Linked DNA regions of Homo sapiens: regions 1, 2, 4 and 5 are each linked to region 3. The links are contacts of gene promoters, found by promoter capture Hi-C in blood cells and fetal thymus (Javierre and others, 2016). All regions are on one chromosome and are shown on one strand. The core of a region is centred on a gene start or on the middle of the fragment in contact, and the rest is flanking DNA. Distances in the headings are between cores, read along the strand shown.

Evidence for each region. The method cuts DNA at HindIII sites, captures the fragments that hold promoters and counts their contacts. A CHiCAGO score of 5 or more calls a contact.
Region 1: a fragment that was not itself captured here is called in contact with the fragment with the promoter of RXFP2 in region 3 in 1 of 17 cell types (M2 macrophages); the score reaches 5.9 in M2 macrophages.
Region 2: a contact is called between a fragment that was not itself captured here and the fragment with the promoter of RXFP2 in region 3, in 3 of 17 cell types (M2 macrophages, M1 macrophages and megakaryocytes). The highest score is 5.5, in M2 macrophages.
Region 4: a fragment that was not itself captured here is called in contact with the fragment with the promoter of RXFP2 in region 3 in 1 of 17 cell types (M2 macrophages); the score reaches 5.1 in M2 macrophages.
Region 5: a fragment that was not itself captured here is called in contact with the fragment with the promoter of RXFP2 in region 3 in 1 of 17 cell types (endothelial precursors); the score reaches 5.8 in endothelial precursors.

Annotation. Positions count from the first base shown.
Region 1 is chr13:31,451,461-31,454,197 of GRCh38, forward strand. All of the region lies in intron 4 of LOC105370150 (a long non-coding RNA gene), which reads left to right. Among named protein-coding and RNA genes, the nearest start is that of B3GLCT, 250 kb to the left of the region's middle. The HindIII fragment of the contact is 1,269 bases long and covers 746-2,014 here.
Region 2 is chr13:31,245,339-31,248,038 of GRCh38, forward strand. It overlaps B3GLCT (beta 3-glucosyltransferase), which reads left to right. Exons shown (of 15, transcript NM_194318.4): 5 at 1,685-1,761; 6 at 2,517-2,628. Among named protein-coding and RNA genes, the nearest start is that of B3GLCT, 47 kb to the left of the region's middle. The HindIII fragment of the contact is 2,843 bases long and covers 1-2,700 here.
Region 3 is chr13:31,738,164-31,740,863 of GRCh38, forward strand. It overlaps RXFP2 (relaxin family peptide receptor 2), which reads left to right and starts at 1,363. Exons shown (of 18, transcript NM_130806.5): 1 at 1,363-1,543. The coding sequence starts at 1,450. The HindIII fragment of the contact is 9,597 bases long and covers 1-2,700 here.
Region 4 is chr13:31,400,989-31,403,698 of GRCh38, forward strand. No RefSeq gene overlaps it. Among named protein-coding and RNA genes, the nearest start is that of B3GLCT, 200 kb to the left of the region's middle. The HindIII fragment of the contact is 888 bases long and covers 895-1,782 here.
Region 5 is chr13:31,468,391-31,471,090 of GRCh38, forward strand. LOC105370150 (a long non-coding RNA gene) reads left to right here. Exons shown (of 6, transcript XR_941830.1): 6 at 2,091-2,226. Among named protein-coding and RNA genes, the nearest start is that of B3GLCT, 270 kb to the left of the region's middle. The HindIII fragment of the contact is 2,454 bases long and covers 148-2,601 here.

The DNA.
Region 1 (2,737 bases), core at 130-2,629, 290 kb before region 3:
GTTGTTGCACTAATTCAGATGAAAAATGAAGACTCAGGGTAGAGTGATGGGGAGAATTCACTGACTCAAATTGCACAGCCTGCCAGCAGGGCACATCTGTGCCATCTCTTTTTGGCCTTGGTAGGTCCTGGATTAGAATAAAAGGTATGGCCCATCTGGCCCTCAGGTGACCCAACATTTGGATCGTGACACTACGTACCAGAGGCAGTCTCATGGTATGCGGGAAAGATGGGGAAGACTGGGTTCAATTACCCTTACAGAGCTTCCTGGTCACATTCCTTGGATTTTAGAACAGGAGTCTGGTAACTTATAGCCTTTGGGCTTCCCATAGAAAGATTTGTTTTGCCTACAGTGTTTTTCTTTTTAAAATGAGCTAATTATCAATATTTTAATATTGTGATATTTTATATCAAAAGCTAGATTTTCACTCTCTAGAAAAATCAGATCTGGTTACGCTGGATTTCCATTTCTACCTGGTAACATCCTGACCATTTAGTTGAGGCCTATGCTCTTTCCTTTGCCACATTGCTCTCCACTCTCTATTGCCTCCCTGGTTCTGGGTATCATTTACTAATCATGGTGCTTGTGATAGAGGTGCTTGTGATAGAGGCAGAGAAATTCTAGGCAGACAGAAGTGGGTCCTCAGTGAAACCCCACCTCCAACTGAAGACAGTTTAAAGACTGAAAGCCAACCTACAAGTTAAATCTTTGGACCCAGATTGAGATCTTGTCTTCCTGTTTGGCAAGCTTTCCTCTGATTGGTCCCCATCCTTCACCTATTTTACATATACATAAGTCTGGCAAAGTGAGAATCTAAACTCCGGAATGAATTTGAAGGTTTTGTTTAAGGGAGAAGATTTAAGAAAGTATCCTAGGTTGAGCACGTGCACCAAAGGCAGACTTACCCCACCTCTGAAAGATATTTTGGTACCCCATGAAGGAAGGCAAGGTACTACCTGGTAATACTTTAAACCCTTTGTCATGCATTATTAGCCCTTTCATTCACAGGTTATAGAACCTTAGAACTGAAGGGATCCTAGGGATCACTTACAGGAGGGATTATTGAGGCTTTTCCAATGACAGAGAGAGTAAAGGATTTTCCCAATGAGACAAAACAGTGCAGTGAAAACTGATGTTCCTAATTGGTTTTTCTACTTTGTTGTGCCCACCTTTGAGTGGTGCCTTTGCTTTAACTTTATTTGCATACTCACAAACCAATCAGCACACACTCCCCATTCTGAGTCCATAAAAGGCCCCAGACCTGGCCACCAGGGGGATCTTTCTGGCCTTTGGGTAGGGGAACAATCCCTGCACCCCCAGCAACTGTGTTCCTGTCTCTGTTGAAAGCCATTTTCATCATTCGATAAAAATCTTCTCCATCCTCCTCATCTTTCAATGTCCCACATATCCTCATTCTTCATGGGCGCAATGCAAGAGCTCAGGAACCACTGAACACAGGGGAGCTGAGGCATACTAATGTGGCCAAGCAAGGCCTGGGAGGGGCATCACCAGCCAGGAGTCCCTGGCTTGTAATTCTCACACACAGCCTGGTTTTTCTCATTCATGTTCCCTGCTTGCATCTATAGGAGTTTACATTTTTGACCCCCTTTCTAGTGAATTTTCTTTAAAAACCCTGATTTGGCATTAAGTGACCTACTTTAAGCTAACAAGCACTAAGTCCCTCTCTTATAGACTTTACACTTAAACTAGAAAAAAAAGACACAAACATACATTTATTCATTCAATATTTCTTGAGTACCTGCTATGTTCAAAGCATGTGCTAGACACTAGGATACAAAGATACATAAAGGAATCCCAGCCATTGCCCTCATGATTTTTACAGTCCAATTATAATATAATAATTAAATTATTATTAAAATAATAATAGCAATATATAATAATATAATCACAGGCAAATTCACATATAAAAAGGTAAAGGTTTGCTCTGAGAAAGTAAATGGTTACTATAAGAAAGTGGAAGTAGAAGCCTTAATTTACATCAAACAACCAAGAAAGCTTTCCAAAATGCAGCACTTGCTCGCTGCTCTTGGAGTGGGTAGACAATGTGATGCTCTGAAGTATGTCTATCCTTCTGAACTGGGAGATGTCACACAAGAGTTACATGGAATACATGGTTTATGAGATTCAGATTTAACTCTGAACTGTCAGGAACATAAGTGAACTGCCCTTGAGGACTGTGAATCATCTCCTGATATCATTGAGCATCAAGACTGTCTACAGAAACATCAGTTTTCACTGCACTGTTTTGTCTCATTGGGAAAATCATTTACTCTCTCTGTCATTGGAAAAGCCTCAATAATCCCTTCTGTAAGTGATCCCTAGGATCCCTTCAGTTCTAAAGTCCTATAACCTGTGAATGAAAGGGCTAATAATGCATGACAAAGGGTTTAAAGTATTACCAGGTAGTACCTTGCCTTCCTTCATGGGGTACCAAAATATCTTTCACAGGTGGGGTAAGTCTGGTAAAGTGAGATTCTAAACTCCGGAAGGTTTTGTTTAAGGGAGAATATTTAAGAAAGTATCCTAGGTTGAGCATGTGCACCAAAGGCAAAGATATAAAATATGGGCCATGAAAATAAAGGAGTAAGGCTGGGCGCAGTGGCTCACTCCTGTAATCCCAGCACTTTGGGAGGCCAAGGCGGGCATATCACGAGGTCAAGAGATCGAGACCATCCTGGCCAACATGGTGAAACCCCGTCTCTACTAAAAATACAAA
Region 2 (2,700 bases), core at 29-2,528, 490 kb before region 3:
ACTTGTTTGGAAGTAAATTTTTGAGGTGCATTCATTTTCCTTCAATGTTTAAAAAACTTAGCTATGTTTTAATTGAAGGATTTTTAAAGCATATATCTCATTGTTCTATCATCTTGACACAAATATTTTCACTTCCTGGTTCTTCTAGTCTCTGTTCATCTAGGATTTTGTTTTATTCTTGGAATCATGTCTGGTTTTTTTCTATTAAACATAAAGACATTTCCGTTGTTATAAAGTTTTCATCATAATTTTAATTGATACATAATAACTCATTAGCTACTTTTATGTAAAACTTTAAAAAGTATTTGCTATATTTCTTTTCTTGTCTAGCTCACATTTGCATTTACCCATAATTATTCCAAAGTTTTATGCAAATAGTAACATCATTAGTTTCTTTACACATGATTTTCTGCTCTTATGTAATCCTTCATGAATATATATATTTGCTGGAATTTTAAAAAGACAATGAAAATTACTGCATAATTCAGAAGTAACAGTAGGAAGGCCCTGAATTATTTATATTGGGTAACTGCTAATTCAGCCTTAAGGTTTGCTCTTTCTAACATACCACATTGTTTGTCTGATTTAACCTGTGATTACTGTTTTTTGCATTTCATATTTCTACATGGAAGTTGAAATGAATATTATATAAAATAAATGAGATTTACTTGAAATTTAATTCCAAAGATTTACATTAAAGACTATTCTCTTCTTAAATAATAAATATCTATGAACTTTAAGACAGCTGTGAAATCCACATCAGTGCAGTAATGTTTCAGATACTTAGGTACTTGTTCTTGAATTCTTTTGTCTGTAATGGTTACTAGGAATATAGTTTTATGGCTAGTATAAAACACAGGATATAATAAAGTTTGTTGGGGGAGGAGGTTTAAGCATATGAGATATGAAATTTTTGACTTTTGGCTTTTGTAACAACTTGAAATATAGGGAATAGTGTTTTGCTTCAAAGCTAACACTCGTAGCCTTAAAAATATTAATCTCTCTTTATATATGTATACATAATTTATGTAAGCACAGTTGTGCCTTATTTCTGAATTTTAGTTCCTCCTATGCTTATAAATTTGTCAATTCCATTATTATGCTATTCCTGTTATTGCCTGAGTAATTAAGGATTACATTTCTCGACCAAAACTTTTTGTTATCAGGGTATTTTAATGTGTTTAGAGAACTTTAAAAAGTAAAGTAATTTTTGCACATGAGGTAGATCAAATATTGTATCCTCTAGTTTAGCCAAAGGGTTTTCATTTTCACATGTTCCATATGTTGTATATAAAATAAAAAACTGCTTCTGTGCCTCTGAGTTATCCCTGACTACTTCCCCCAGGCTCTTCCCTTCAAGTCACCTTCACAGATTTCAGGTTGGCTCGGAGTCACGGAAGACCCTCCTTGTAGGTCTTGAGCTCTATTTGGGTGTGTGGGTGGTGCAGAGTGTAGAGGTTGCATGGATTCAGCCAAAATACTTCATTTCCAGTAGCTCCTGGAGAAAATGAGGAAAAAGAAGTGGTTTGAAGAGTACCATGTCAGGTCTCTAGAAACAGCTGCATTTTAAGCCAAGCCTTTTCTTTTTTTCTTTTTTCTTTTCTTTTCTTTTCTTTTTTTTTTTTTTTACTTTTTTTCGGAGTAGTCAATTCATACTTATCTTCTTTGATCATTGTTTTCTCAGGAGCTCCCCAGTGTCCTCCTCCTTCATCAGCTGGCTAAACAAGAAGGTGCATGGACCATACTTCCGTTGTTACCGCAGTACGTTTGTTTAACTCACCTGTGAATTACTGACATTCCTACCTGAACACTTTTACGCCCTTAGTCTTTTTATTAAGAGGGTGTGGTTTTCCTCAGTCAGTAAGTGAAGTAAATTTGAGTTTTACTTTTTATGATTACTACCTTAACCAAATTTCTTGATGATTGGTTCTTAATCATGAATAGCTTTTTCTTTTTTTTTGGAGACAGAGTCTCGCTCTGTCGCCAGGCTGGAATGCAGTGGTGACTTGGCTCCTGCAAGCTCTGCCTCATGGGTTCAAGCAATTCCCTGCCTCAGCCTCCCGAGTAGCTGTGACTACAGGCGTGCACCACCACTCCCAGTTATTTTTTTATTTTTAGTATAGATGAGATTTTACCATGTTGGCCAGGATGGCCTTGATCTGTTGACCTTGTGATCCGTCTGCCTTGGCCTCCCAAAGTGCTGGGATAACAGGCGTGAGCCACCACACCCTGCCCTATATATGCTTTTTCTTAAAGAATAAAATGCTTCAAGTTGATATTTGAAAATTATTTATCCCCTGAACTAGTGTTGTTATGGAGAGAATTAACTTTACGAACTCCAGCTGTTTTTTAAACCATTAGCATCTGGCTTTTCTATAAGCTGAAGAAAAATATAGAGAAAAAAATTAGATATGCCATTCTGTGTACCCTTCATTCACTTCCTACTGATCAGTTTTAAACCTTATTATTAACTTATTTTACAGAAGTGATTACTGAAACTTGTTTCTTTTGGTCAGTTTTTCTGTAACATATAGCAGAAATTCATCTTGGATTTTCTTCTGTGAAGAAGAGACAAGAATACAGATTCCAAAACTCTTGGAAACCCTCAGAAGATATGACCCCTCTAAGGTGAATATAACTTCAATACCAGTTCTTATTTTGGGGGACAGTGTTTCAAAGGAGATTTAATTTTGATTAAGA
Region 3 (2,700 bases), core at 113-2,612:
GACTTATGATGGTATTTAATTGCACTTAAAAACTCATGCTCAAAATTTCAGTACCAGAAACTAGCATCCATCATCTCGACAGCAAAACACAAAACGTAAGAAAAACTAATCATTCCTTTAAGTGAAATAAGGCAATTTTTACCTAAAAAGACCTTGAGGTTAGTGAGGGAAAAAAAGATGCTTGAAATGTAAGAAAAGATCCTGAAGTATTTCTTTTCATCTTTATTCTCTCTGTTGCTTTTTCTTTTGATTTGAAAGATCAGATGAGACCACATATAAATATGTCTGGGAGGTGTCTTAGAGAACTTAACTCACTTCTTAAAAAGAGAAAAGAACTAAATACATTATGTGATAAATAAAGTATTTTTTATTGTACATTCTGTTTGAATCCTTGTTCTCTCAAAGGCTAGAATGAAAGAAAGAACAAGGAAAACCCCGTGTTTTATGATTTGTGACGATAATAGTCACCACAAGGTAGTTTTTTTCAGTGTTGTTAGGACACAGTTAACGACAACATATAAGAGAATCTGCATCGTTCAGTCACAAAATCTTCTCTTCAAATCAGAACTACAAACTGTATTCTAGATAGATATTTCCCTGTTAGTAAAATATAAACTCAGACATGGAAATTCTACATCTTTTTGGAGAAGTCTTAATGATTACACTAGGATCAACAGAATCCTACAACCAAAAGTCAATTTTTATACTTTTAACTTGTACTAACTATGCTGTTGAGAAAGCTGCTTTCAGGATGTAAGAACTAAATTATAATTAGTGTTTTCTAATAGGTGTGCAATACAGAGCTGGAAGCAAGAATAAAATTATTCACTTCAAGAAAAAGGAATATGATTATGCGGGAAGTATGTGAAGTGAAAATATTGTATGAATGTTTTACAGTAATTATTTAACACAATGCCATATATTTAAATTATCTTTTCATATGTCATTTGAAAACATTTAGGTACATTTGAATAGAAGTGGGTGTTCTTTGTGTATCTGTCAATAAGTAGTTTTTTACATTTGTTTATTGCATGAAAATATAATTGTAAAGGGTTTCATAGCCTATTCAGTGTAAGCCTATATCCTTCATATTTGAGAACTTCGATGTTTGGATTTAAACAGAGCAAATTGTACATGCTTTGGAGGAAAAAAATTTTTAAGTGATTAAAAAATATTTCTTATCAGATAATACCAAAGTCCTATTATACCTTCTTTTACACACCATAATGAATTAGTGATCAAGAACACAACTGTAGATTTAAACTAAAAGAAACAAAAAAGAAAGAACAAAAAAGACAGGCTGCATAGTGACAAGAATCCATCTCCCTTCATGCCAGTGAGGTTCTAGCTGTGAGCATGCTCAGAACATGGGAGGCACTGAACTTACTACATCAGAACTCCTGCTGAGGTATAAGAGGATACGTCTAATAACTCAATTGCTGTAAACCTATGATTGTTTTTCTGGTTTTTAAACATCTCTTCAGCCTCAGATTGATTACAATGTTCTTTCTACTTCATTTCATCGTTCTGATCAATGTCAAAGGTAAGGTTGCTACTTTCTCGTTTTAAATGAGTGCAATTCCCAAAAAATACATTTCTATGTAGTTCTATGGCAGTTGTAATAAATATATTGGGGTGTTTAAAAAAAAAACAGACATCAAATTTGCCTGGTATTTGTCATTATCTTTCATTGCTTGTAGTCCCACACAGCCTAGTAATTTTTAGATGCAACAAATTTTTCATGGAAACAAGCCTTTGTATGTTATTAAAGCTGTAGATAAAATATGTCAAAAAACAATGTTGACTATATCAATTAAAACATAGAAAACATTTTTGGCATTTGTTCTGAAAAGTGTGACAAATTAATAAACTAAAATTGTGTTTTGTGGAATTTCAACCTGTTGAAATATGCCCATAAAATTCAAGTAATTATTAGTAACTATCTTGCGTGAACATAATTAAACTGGGAACTCCAAAGCCACAGGCAGATCTAAAAAACAGTATCTGTCTCTAAGAGTAAACCTCTCTAAAATAAAGTTATTAAAAGTCTATACAAGTGCATTTACTTAGATAATTTTCTTTTGTTTTTAATTTGTGGAAATTTTTATTTCAGTCAAACTCTTAAGTTTCAAGTCAGTACCATTTTCATTGTAAAGCTCACCAAAAAATAAAACCTAAATCTTCACTTGTTTTTAAATAAAAAGATACGTTGTCAGCCTATACATTCATAAACAACCTATTAACCACACCCAAGATTTGCTGGGGTTTATTATTATTCAAAAATGTTTCTATTTTAATTTGTATTTTTTCTTAAAGAATTTTGATAAACCTCTGAGAATAAAGGTTAAAATTTGAAATTATTTTTATTTTCTGAGAAATTCGTTTTAGGTTTTTTAAATATTCAGTTTTATTAGGTGAATTCCAAGTGAATATTTTAAATCTTGAAATAAAATGCAATACTTATGAGGAATTATTTTAAAACTTCTAACAAACAAAAGATTTTTAAAAGGCTTAAAATATCTAAATTTTATTTTGAATTTAAAATAATACTAAAACTTTACTACAAATATTTAAAATCTATATCTCCATGCACCTAGCATGACTTTTATTTTATATTTTAATATCTCTTACATGAAAAGCTAAGGATTAACTAAGAAGAAACAATATATGAACTCACCTTGCATGCAGTACAGTTGCAAC
Region 4 (2,710 bases), core at 89-2,588, 340 kb before region 3:
TGTCATGAGGTTCTTTTGCTGTAAAGTATAGTTAAAGTCCAATATTTTCTTACTTATTTTCTGCTGAAAAATCTGTCCATGTCAAAAGTGGGTTACTAAACTTCCATATTATTATTGCATTACATTCTGTTTCTCCTTTCAGATCCTTCGATATTTGCTTTATATATTTAGGTGCTTTGATATTGAGTGCATATGTATTTATAATTGTTACATCCTCTTGATTAATTGACTTCTTTTTGTTATATAATGACCTTCATTGTCTCTTTGTATAGTTTTTTATTTACAGTCTATATTGTCTGATGTAAGTATACCTACCTTTGCTCTCTTTTGATTTCCATTTGCACAGAATGTGTTTTTCCATCCTTTCACTTACAATCTGTGTGTTTACTTAAAGGTGAAATGAGCCTCTTGTAGGCAGCAGATAGTTAGGTTTTTTAAAAAATCCTTTCTGCCACCCTATGTCTTTTGATTGGAGAATTTAATCCATTTACATCCAAAGTTATTACTGATAACTAAGGACTTACTACTGTTACTTTATCAATTGTTTTATAGATTCTTTGTTCTTTTGTTTTTCTTTCTTTCTTGGAGTCTTTCTTTATGGTCTGATGGTTTTCTGTAGAAGTATAATTTGAATTTTTTTTAAAAAAATCTTTCTCATTGTTGTAATTCCAGCACCTTGCACAATCCTAGTATACTTCAGATACTCATTGTTCGTTGAATTCAAAGGAAATAGCTTCAAATCATGTTTAAAACTACGGTTACCTTTTGTTTCTGTTTCCCTCAACCAATATTGATTCTTCTTACATAATTATATTTATAATTATCCTTTCTTGTGAGTCTCACTACCTCAATTTTAGTTCAGACCTTTTTAGCCTCAAATCTTTATCAGTGCTAAGCTTCCAAAATGCCTCCAGCTTTCCAGGGGCTCTTCATTACTCCTTTCATGAATACTGTCTCCTCAAGGTAATGTCAAGCCACTTTGATCATTTTGATGCTAGTATGTATAGGTTAAAACCACATCCCACTGGCATTAAGGTCTCTGCAATCTGATACCCTTCAACATATGCAGCCTCATCTATTTCCTAACTTCCCCAGACCATAGGAAAATATTATGTTTCAGTGGAAAACTAGAGCATTATCTCTCAAGGGGTAATTTGATTCTGAGTCTGTGGGAGTTCTGCACCTTTCAATATCTTGAAGCTATTTTCAAACTCTGTAAATGGTAGATAACTCATAGCAATGCAAAATAATTCTTGTCTATAGATGTCTAATTCAGATGTTATCTAAAAGTTAGTTCAAATTACAGACTTGAAAAGGTTATTTATGGGTCGGGCATGTTGGCTCATGCCTGTAATCCCAGTACTTTGGGAAGCCGAGGTGGGCAGATCACTTGAGGCCAGGAGTTCGAGACAGCCTAGCCAACATTGAGAAACCCCATCTCTACTAAAAATACAAAAATTAACTGGGCGTGGTGGCACGTGCCTGTAATCCCAGCTACTCAGAAGGCTGAGGTGGGAGAATCGCTTGAACCCAGGAGGCAGAGGTTGCAGTGAGCCTAGATTGTGCCACTGCACTCTAGCCTGGGTGACAGAGCAAGGCTATCTCTCAATTAAAAAAAAAAAAAAAAAGAAAAGAAAAGAAAGAAAAAGTTATTTATGAAACAATATAGTAAGGAACCATTAAGTAGAGGTGAAAGATGTGGAAAAGTTTAAACTATAGAATATTCCTTAAAACCTGATAAAGAATTGGAAGCATTTGGCTAATTAACATTTTCATAGTTAAAGCTTTTAGTCTTCATTAAAGTAAGAAGTATTGTAAAAATGCATGGGCAATTTGACAATTCTTTTTTTAACATAGTTAAGCATGAAGCTGGATTTATCACAGAACCAAATGTCACATATATGCTTGCATTACTTCACACTATGTTTACTGCCGTACGTGGATAGTGTGGTTATTGGTCGTGTGCCTTAAGTGAATTACTTAATTGCACAGGATGTATGATGGCGTTGGTGAACTTGGGGATGTTGAATTGAGTATCAGGAATAAAATATTCATTATGTGGGTTTTCTGGGGCCCTAGGAAACACTGTTGGCTAGGGAAAATTGAGTATGAAAATTTAGGGTTGGTTTCCTGTTTATTTGTTTTTGCTCTAGTTTTCATTCCTTTGCTCTTTATTCTCCTCTGATTTTGCTTGTGTATCCATATATATAAAATCATGATTTTATTATTTTAGTTTGGTTTTTATTTCGTTATGTGAATAGTTGTTTTGCTTCCTATGCACTTCTAGCAAGTCATCTTCCGTTCCATTTATCTGGAATTCCTAAACTACTTTTGTCAGGCCTGCAAGAATTAATGGAACACGCCAGCTTTTTATCCTTAAACTAACCTTGGATTTTAGCCTTCCTGGTACTTTGTGTTAAGTATACTCTCACAAATAGAATTTGAGTCATATTTCTCTCTCTGCCTAACTTCTCCAATATTTGTAAACTATTCATGAATATTCTTAATTCATGTGTTCTTTTGCATACATTCAAGCAGGGTCGCCAGGGTCGCTCAGGGAGAGAGAACCCAGACACCTGGCACGCAGGCATAAGGGTAAGAATTTCTTACCAGTCAGTCTTGGGCCTCTTTCTCTCTATGCAAACTGGTTAATCTCCTTTGTGAAGTTTTAAGTTAATTGGTTTAATAATAAGAAGAACTTAAATCAAAT
Region 5 (2,700 bases), core at 125-2,624, 270 kb before region 3:
TCTCTACCTGGCTGGCGCCTTGTTGCCTGCTTTTTTACTGCACATATGGTGTCAAAGAAAAGGGAAGGGGGAACTTCCATGTTGAATATGCCCGGCCCCCGGGGTAGCCTTTTCCTTTTGGGAGAGCTGCCCACATTAAACTATGCAAGCTTCCAGCTTTCTTATTTATGTCTGCAGCCTGATTTTACCGGCTGCTCTTTGTTAGAAAAGAAATGATTTGGGGGCTGCTTTTTGTCACAAGGAAAGCCTTATCGAAGACTCTCTTACCCTAACTGCCTAAATAATTTCTTTTTAACTCCTGTATCACTTCTACTTCCTCTGTATCTGGAGTTCTGCAAAACGACTCGTTTTGCTTCTGGCCTTCACTAGGATTTCTCAACAGTGCTGTGTTAGGTTTCAAAATTTTCCAATCTGTAAGATCAATTAATATTCATCTGTCTTACAGTCAGCAAAATTTTATTGCTGTCGTCTTTTTTCCTGTCTACAACTTCTAAAAGTTCTCTCTTGTTTAAAAGTGGTGCTGTAGGAAAACGAGGCAAACTTGTATATTGAAGTCACCGTGTTTAATCCATTGCTTTCAATCTTTTTTTTGTCATTATATTTTCAGTATAATTTTTATAAACAGCAAATTGCTTTATTGAAAATAATCTAATTGGAGAGTCTTCATCTTCTACAAGGAGTTTCATTAAATAACAGTGATTGTCAGGATACATGGATTTATTTTATCAGTCTTATTTTGTTCTTTTTATTTATTATGCTTCTTTTCCTCCTCTTTGACTTCTGTTGAATTGATGGAGTTTTCTTCGTTCTTTTTAATTTCTACCACATTTTACTTCTAGTCTTTTAGTAATTCCCACTTATTTGACATAGTCTCAGTTAATCAACATCTCTGCCTTCTCCTTAGCAATATAAGAAACTCTGACCATTTTAACTCAGATATTTTCTCACATTACTGATGCTCTGTATTTTAATCCTATCTAGCTTATAACAGATATTTGTCATTTTTATAATTATTCTTAGAGTTTATTTATAGCTACCCATAAATTGATCATGCTTTCCATTGCTTCTTACATCCTGTTTCCTCTTTCTGGTTAGATTTTTTTCTTTTCATATTTTCTTTCTTTTTATTCTCCTATTTTTTCTCTATTTTTATTTTTAATTTTATTTTTAATTTATTTTTAATTTTATTTTTAATTTATTTTTCATTTTATTTTATTTTTAATTTTCCTTCTTTTCCAAGTGTTTAAAATTAACATGTTAATTAACATCTCAATTAGCTTTTAAGTCACTGCTGGAAGCTATTTTACCCTTCAGAAACATTCTAGATACAATAAACATTCTAGATACAATAAATTAAACATTCTAGATACAATAAAATATTCATATTTTGTGTTACTGTGTTGGATTTTCCCCATCCATCACCCAAGACAAATGGGTAACTCCCATACTTCATTTAGTAGTTAATATAAGGATAAGCATAAATTTCAGGAAGAAAGGTGGTAGGAGAAAGATAAATAGAAAAGAAGGAGGAGTAGTAAAAGCAGGAGGAGGAAAGAGAAAGGAAGGAAAAGAGATAAACATATATCCTTATAGTTTTAAATATAACTTAGTTTTTCTTATAAATCTTATTCTGATACTGTATTCAAGAGACCCTAGGAACATTTTTAGTTTCTTAAGATAAGCAAAGGGAAACATGAGATTTTATTGAAAGAAAAGATGTTCTAAAGGACAGAAACAAAAGGGACTGTCTCTTCTTAGAGCACAACTCTTATGGCAATTGAATGAGCTAAAGGGCCTTAGTGCTCATCCAATCCTAAATTGCTGAAATAGTAATTTAAGTCACTCACCATCTCTTTTGTTTAACTGCAGCTATTCTTGAATAATGGAAGAATAGGTACATAGAATAACTTTTTAACAATGTCTCACTCCTGACACAGAAGAAGTTCTTTGTTAATGCATTTAACTGAATTCTGATTTAATAGTTCAATTCATTTATTTCAACCAATATTTATTGGCTGGTGATACAATTGCTTCTCAAGGAGAAATGATTTGAACAGGAGAAGAGTTTTTAAAATATTTTTTTAAAATAGGAGATTTGTACACCAAGATTCTTCTGTGCTGTAGTCAAAAGTGATGTGCCCTTGAATGGACTCTGAATGTCCTTCAACACAATAGACATGGCCAAGGAAAATAAACCTGAAGAAAAGAAATCCTGGAAAGACTGGAGGTCTAAGAGGCATGGCCAGGGTGTTGAATGTAAGTGAATGTAACAGATGAACTTCTGCATTTGGGGCTATTCTCTGAGTCACCTTGTTTTATCATAAGCAATTGAGCCATGGAAGAAATGCAGAGTAAATATTCTAACTCCAGAGGATACATGCTTTGTAGTTCACAACCTTCAAGATGAGGTTGATACTTCAGCCTTCAAGATGACACTAATCAGGCCATGCATTTCTCTGAGCTTTGGCTTCCTTATTTGTTAACAAAACAAGGTGAAATATGACTTGGTTATGAACATGAGCTTCAAGGTCAGGCATAGATAGTTCAAGTCATGCTCTGGCATTTACTAATGATTTAAATATGGATAAGTTATTTAACCTAAGCTTTAAAAAAAGGTTTTCTTTTATTTTAGTTTTGAAGCTGTGAAATGAGGATTAGAAAAATACGTATGTCATAGAACTGTGAGATTGAAGTAGTTTA